Regions from separate parts of the Homo sapiens genome. Here region 1 is linked to region 2. Evidence: promoter capture Hi-C in 16 types of primary human blood cells and fetal thymus (Javierre and others, 2016). All regions are on one chromosome and are shown on one strand. Each heading gives the region's core, a stretch centred on a gene start or on the middle of the fragment in contact. The rest is flanking DNA. Distances are from core to core; before and after follow the strand shown. Region 1 has its middle 22 kb from the start of ERICH3. Region 2 holds the start of NEGR1 (neuronal growth regulator 1).

What was found. Contacts are between HindIII fragments. The CHiCAGO score rates a contact against its expected background, and 5 or more counts as called.
Region 1: a contact is called between a fragment that was not itself captured here and the fragment with the promoter of NEGR1 in region 2, in 1 of 17 cell types (naive B cells). The highest score is 6.4, in naive B cells.

Annotation. Positions count from the first base shown.
Region 1 is chr1:74,694,679-74,697,686 of GRCh38, reverse strand. No RefSeq gene overlaps it. Among named protein-coding and RNA genes, the nearest start is that of ERICH3, 22 kb to the right of the region's middle. The HindIII fragment of the contact is 1,846 bases long and covers 821-2,666 here.
Region 2 is chr1:72,281,126-72,284,206 of GRCh38, reverse strand. It overlaps NEGR1 (neuronal growth regulator 1), which reads left to right and starts at 1,668. Exons shown (of 7, transcript NM_173808.3): 1 at 1,668-1,888. The coding sequence starts at 1,713. It overlaps LOC105378797 (a long non-coding RNA gene), which reads right to left and starts at 1,273. Exons shown (of 6, transcript XR_947506.3): 1 at 802-1,273. RefSeq lists silencers at 1,232-1,321, 1,422-1,481. The HindIII fragment of the contact is 3,164 bases long and covers 40-3,081 here.

The DNA.
Region 1 (3,008 bases), core at 494-2,993, 2.4 Mb before region 2:
AGAGCTTCCAGATGGTGTTTAAATTAACCTCTGAAATACATTTGTGGGTGGGGCACAGTGGCTCACACCTGTAATCCCAGCACTTCAGGAGGCTGAGGCGAGCGGATCACGGGGTCAGGAGATTGAGAACATCCTGGCTAACACAGTGAAACCCTGTCTCTACTAAAAATACAAAAAAAAAAAAAAAATTAGCCAGGCATGGTGGCATGTGCCTGTAGTCCCAGCTACTCAGGAGGCTGAGGCAGGAGAATCACTTGAACCTGGGAGAAGGAGGTTGCAGTGAGCTGAGATCATGCCACTGCACTCCAGCCTGGGTGACAGAGCGAGACTCCATCTCAAAAAAAAAAAAAAAATGTTGTGGATATTAAAATCATGTTCTTAGTCCATTTGGGCTGTTATAACAAAGTCCCTTAGACTGGGTGGCTTCTAAACAACAGAGATTTATTCCTAACAGTTCTGGAAGCTGGGAAATACGAGATCAAGGGTCCGACAGATTCAGTGTCTGGCAAGGATGTGCTTTCTGGTTCATGGATGGTGCCTTCTCATTGTGTCCTCACATGGTGGAAGGGCAGAGCTAGCTCTCTGGGTACTCATGACCTAATCACCTCCCAAAGACCCCACCTCCTAGTACCATCACCTTGGCGCTAGGTGCTTGTACCTGTAAATTTGGGGGGCATGCAAACATTCAGACTGTATCAATCATTTTCCCTCATTTCAATTTTCCCTGCTCTTTGACCTCATTCAGTCCCTCTCTTCATTTGATCTTTCATTGCCAATCTCAGTCCAAAGGCCCTAAGCAGCTCTCACATCCCACCAAGCTTAAGTTGGTCACTAAAGTACCCTCAATTATCTTGAATCACCATCCTTCTTCAAAAGTCACTCATTGAAACCTAGCCCTGGATGGAACTTGTAATCTACCTTCAACTTCCAGCTTTTTCACTACTTCGTATATTGTAGATGTAGCCAATCATAAGGAGCAGGTGCTGTTCTGCCTCCCCCTCCAATTTGCCCTTCAAACCCAGCACTCTCCTGCCTCTAGTTCTGCTCATGCCATTTATTTCCATTTATTACCTTTTCTCTGAGTAAATTTGAAAATTAATCATTTGATTAGTTTTAGGATGATCTGTGTATGTCTTTGTGTGCAGTATTTAGAAGATGAGATAGGCATCTTTCCCCTTGGAAGGTTAGTGAAATGTGGGAGCAGCTATTCATCAGATGTCACTCCAGTCATGATGGAAAGGGAATTGCTATAAACCTCACAATAGACAAAAAGATGGACTAGGTAAAACTCGTGCAGTTGCTTATCAGGAGGAATGAATATTTTCATTTTAATTTTAACTTTTTTTGCCCTAGAATTTAAGCAACTTGAGATGATGGATAAGACCTAGCATACCCCAGGCACTCAAGTTTGATGAGTGAAAGATTATAACAGGCCAGGTTTTCCTACCTGTACAATTTTCTCTCTCAGGATTAATATGTCACTGATCATTAGAGAAATCCAAAGCAAAACCACAATGAGATACCATCTCACACCAGTCAGAGGCTGACACGGGTGGATAACATGAGATCAGGAGTTCAAGACCAGCCTGGTCAACATGGTGAAACCCCGTCTCCACTAAAAATACAAAAAATTTGCTGGGCGTGGTGGCGGATGCCTGTAATCCCAGCTACTCAGGAGGCTGAGGCAGGAGAATCGCATGAACCCGAGAGGTGGAGGTTGCAGTGAGTCAAGATCACACCACTGCACTCTAGTCTGGCAACAGAGCAAGACTCCTTCCCCCACCCCCCCCCCCAAAAAAAAAGTCAAAAGATAACAGATGCTGGTGAGGTTGTGGAGAAAGGGAATGCTTATACAGTGTTGGTGGGAGTGTAGATCAGTTCAACCTTTGTGGAAGACAGTATGGTGATTCCTCAAAGACCTAAAGATAGAAATATCATTTGACCCAGCAATCCCATTACTGGGTATATACCTAAAGGAATATAAATCATTCCATTATAGACACATGCACACATATGTTTACTGCAGCACTATTCACAATAAGCAAAGATGTGGAATCAACCTAAATGCTCATCAATGATAGAATGGATAAAGAAAATGTGGTACATATACACCACAGAATACTGTGCATCTATAAAAAAGAATGAGATCATGTCCTTTGCAGGGACATGGATGGAGCTGGAGGCCATTATCCTTAGCAAACTAACATAAGATCAGAAAACCAAATACCACACGTTCTCCCTTATAAGTGGGAGTTAATAATAAGAACACATGGACACAGAGGGGAACAACACACACTGGGGCTTGTCAGAGTATGGAGGGTGGGAGGAGGGAGAGGGTCAGAAAAAATAATGGGAACTAGGCTCAATACCTGGGCAATGAAATAATCTGTACAACAAACCTGTAGGACATAAGTTTACCTATGTAACAAACCTGCACATATACCCCTGAACTTTAAATAAAAGTTAATATATTTGTGTATGTATGTGTGTGTATATATATACATACATATGTATGTATACACATTTAATCTGAAATTTAAATTGTATCACAGAAGAACACACAGAGGTGTATATATACATGTTTGTACATTAACTGTAAAGTAGAAATTTGACATTTGACATTTGGATCAAGTATGAAAAAGCTGGTTTTATGTGCAATCAAAGCTTAGCTCTGGGCACCTGCCATCTTACTTCAAAGTAAAGCTTATTTTTGATTATTCAGAGAAAAAAAGGAATTAAAAAATAAGTAAAACCAATCTATTAAAAATTATTTTTGTTTATTATTTTATTTAGGTGAAACAAGAATCTACTTCTTTTACCCTTTTTCAATTTTTTACCTTTAAAACTTTTAACAGCCTAACTCACATTCTAAATACTGAAAGTGCATAACATAGGTCAGTGTTAATTTTTTAAATGTCAATTCAACTTAGTAGAAAAAAGCAATTGATGTGTTTCAGTAATAACTTCCACTTGTTTTAACTTGTTATGTTAGCACTTGCAATTCTGTT
Region 2 (3,081 bases), core at 419-2,918:
TCGGTTCTCGCATTGATTTGCAAATGGCCCGGAAAAGCTTAAGGATCTTGAATCTGGAAATGAGTTCAAGAAGGAAAGAAGAAAAAAGAGTAGGGGTGGCCCCACGCCTAGTATCTCCTTCTGCCTTGGGCCAGGGCAGGGCTGAAAACAGCCCGGCGAGCTGCGGAGGGGCTGCTGCGTGGGGAAGCGGAGGTTACCGCTCTGCACCGCGGAGGAGCAAGCCTGTTAACGCGGTGTGGAGGCTGTTAAGAAATACAACCCTGCGACTCGTTAAACCCCTTAACTCTGCCCTGCCTTGACTCGGATGCGCCGATTATTCGGCCTGATAGGCTCAAATGGGTTAAACTGCCTCTTACATAACTGGACCGCCTGGGCTCTACACAATTAAAACACTTGATTGCAGTCTTTTCCCGACTCTACATCCCAGCATGACCCGCCCCGTCCCTCCCAGCGCGCCTGCGTGCCGCGCGTGCACAGGCCCCCGCGCGCACGACACGCTCTCTATCACACACACACTCCATGTTGACCATAAACAATCCCCTACTCACACACACAACTTAGTGTCAACACCCACAGATAAAAGAGGGGCGTCCTGCAATCCATACGGGCCGACCGCCACAAACACGCAAGCTGCTCTGCCGCAAGGCCTTGCACCTCCTCGTGTCCCCGCAAAAAAGCAGCGCCCCGCCACCGTCCCTACCTATTCCCGAGAAAACGCAGAGAGAACTAGTTGGCTGCTCGCTAACTGCAGCGTAGCCACCCAGGCAAGATTAGAAGAAAATAAACAAAAAAACAACTCACAGTCGCCGGCGTCATGATGGCGCCGACCACAACTTGGAGGACTTCAAACTTACGGTGCCTCGAGAGGTAAAACGCACCGGTGAGGGAAGGCAAAGCGCCCCTCAGCTCTCTTCACCCCAGCCCTGACACGGAGACTTTTCTAGCAAAGAATCCCTCTAGCGCTTACGACAGTAAGGAGAGCCTTCATTCTAAGGTGCCTCTCTTTCCCCCTTAGTTTGCATAATTGTGATACAGTTCCTCCTATTTTTTTTTTCGTTGTCTTGCTTTTCTTTTTTTTTTCTTGCTATCTTTTTTCTTTCTTTTTTTATTATTTTTTTAATCCCCCTCCCTTCTCCATCCCCAGTCCCCTGGCGGGGTTGCTAAGGAAACGGCCGCTTGGCAACGCGCGCGAGCCCGGGAGCCGGCGGCCGGCGCAGCGCTCCGCGCTGCTTCTGCTGCTGCTGTTGCTGTTGCTGCTGCTGCTGCTGGGATTGCAGCCGCCGCCGCCGCCGCTCGCCCTGCCTCCTCCCCCGCCGCCGCGCCTCCTCCCTCACTCGCCGGCGCGCTCGCCTCCTCGCTAGATGGTGTGCGAGCCGCCCGAGAATTAGACACACTCCGGACGCGGCCAAAAGCAACCGAGAGGAGGTGTAGTGTGGTGCCAGGGGGAGGGAGGGGAGGGAGGGAGGGAAAGCGAAGAGGAGGAGGGGAGGCAAAAACACCGAAAAACAAAAAGAGAGAAACAACACCCAACAACTGGGGTGGGGGGAAGAAAGAAAGAAAAGAAACCCACCCACCCACCAAAAAAAAAAAAAAAAAAAAAAAAAAAAAAAAATCCTGTGGCGCGCCGCCTGGTTCCCGGGAAGACTCGCCAGCACCAGGGGGTGGGGGAGTGCGAGCTGAAAGCTGCTGGAGAGTGAGCAGCCCTAGCAGGGATGGACATGATGCTGTTGGTGCAGGGTGCTTGTTGCTCGAACCAGTGGCTGGCGGCGGTGCTCCTCAGCCTGTGCTGCCTGCTACCCTCCTGCCTCCCGGCTGGACAGAGTGTGGACTTCCCCTGGGCGGCCGTGGACAACATGATGGTCAGAAAAGGGGACACGGCGGTGCTTAGGTAGGAAGAACGGCGTGCTTTTCGTACTTGTTTCGGTCTATCTTTCTGTCTCTCTTTGAACCCTCTTTGCCTTCTTTATAACACAAGCAATAATGCTGGTGGTGCTCATCATGGAAAGACCACATCCCAAGAATTCCAGGTGCAGATTCTTCCCGGAGCCCCGGCCCGTTTATGCTGGGGCAGGTAGCAAGCTGGACTCGTGATGCTAAAGCACTTTGCCGGAACGCCAAGTAGCCTGGGGATGAGTGAACTGTCAGGTTTAGAAGGAGGGGCAGGTGCCACTTTGAAACTCAATGCACAAGGTCTCTGTTTTACTGTCATGGGGTACTCCTGGAGAGTCTGACAAGTTTATCAGGTTTGTTTCTATTTTACTCCAGCATAAGCGACTCTTTCAAACTGCTGTTCTCTGCTCCCATTTATTTTCCCTCTCACTTGGACACTTAGGCTCGATTTCTTGCTCTTTATCTTTCTTTCCTTTTACCGCTTTCTGTTTTCTTTCTTTTCTCCTTCCTCATTCTCTTATACCATTTTCCCCACCTCCTTGTAACTCTTTTTCCCTCCAATATCTCTTTTCATACCTTTTCTATTTTCTGTTTTTTCCCTCCTTTTTAAAATTTCTTCTCATATTTTCTCATTTTTATCTCCACGACTCTAATTTCTGTTCCTCACATTTAATCCCCTTTCCTCCTCTCTTTTACCCTTTTTTCTTTTTGTCTATTTTTTTTATTCCTCCTTAATGTCCCTATCCTGTGCCCTGTCTTCCCTCTTTTGACTCCCATTTCTCATCCCTCTCCCCATACCGTTTCCCACCCCTGTGGCACACACAGGCATGGTCACTGTTCCCCTCCAGTACCATTTACTCACCCTCATAAATCTTATTTCCATAAACATACTAACTCACATACTCTCACATCCTCACATGCACTGGCACTTCCATGCTGTAAGAACCACTTCCACATTCAGATTGTCTCTCACTGTTTTTAAAAGGCATACTCTCCTTCTCTGTTCCACATTGTCACTCACACATGTGTACACACTGCCTGTCTCACTCGCTGCTCTCACTCTGTCTCTGCTTCTCTCTTTTTCTCTTTCTGTGTCTTTCTATCCCCTTTTTATTCCTACCTTCCTCCCTCCATCAGTCTTCACTTTTACTTATTTTTCTCATTTTCCCTTCTTTCCTCTGAGCTTGAGCT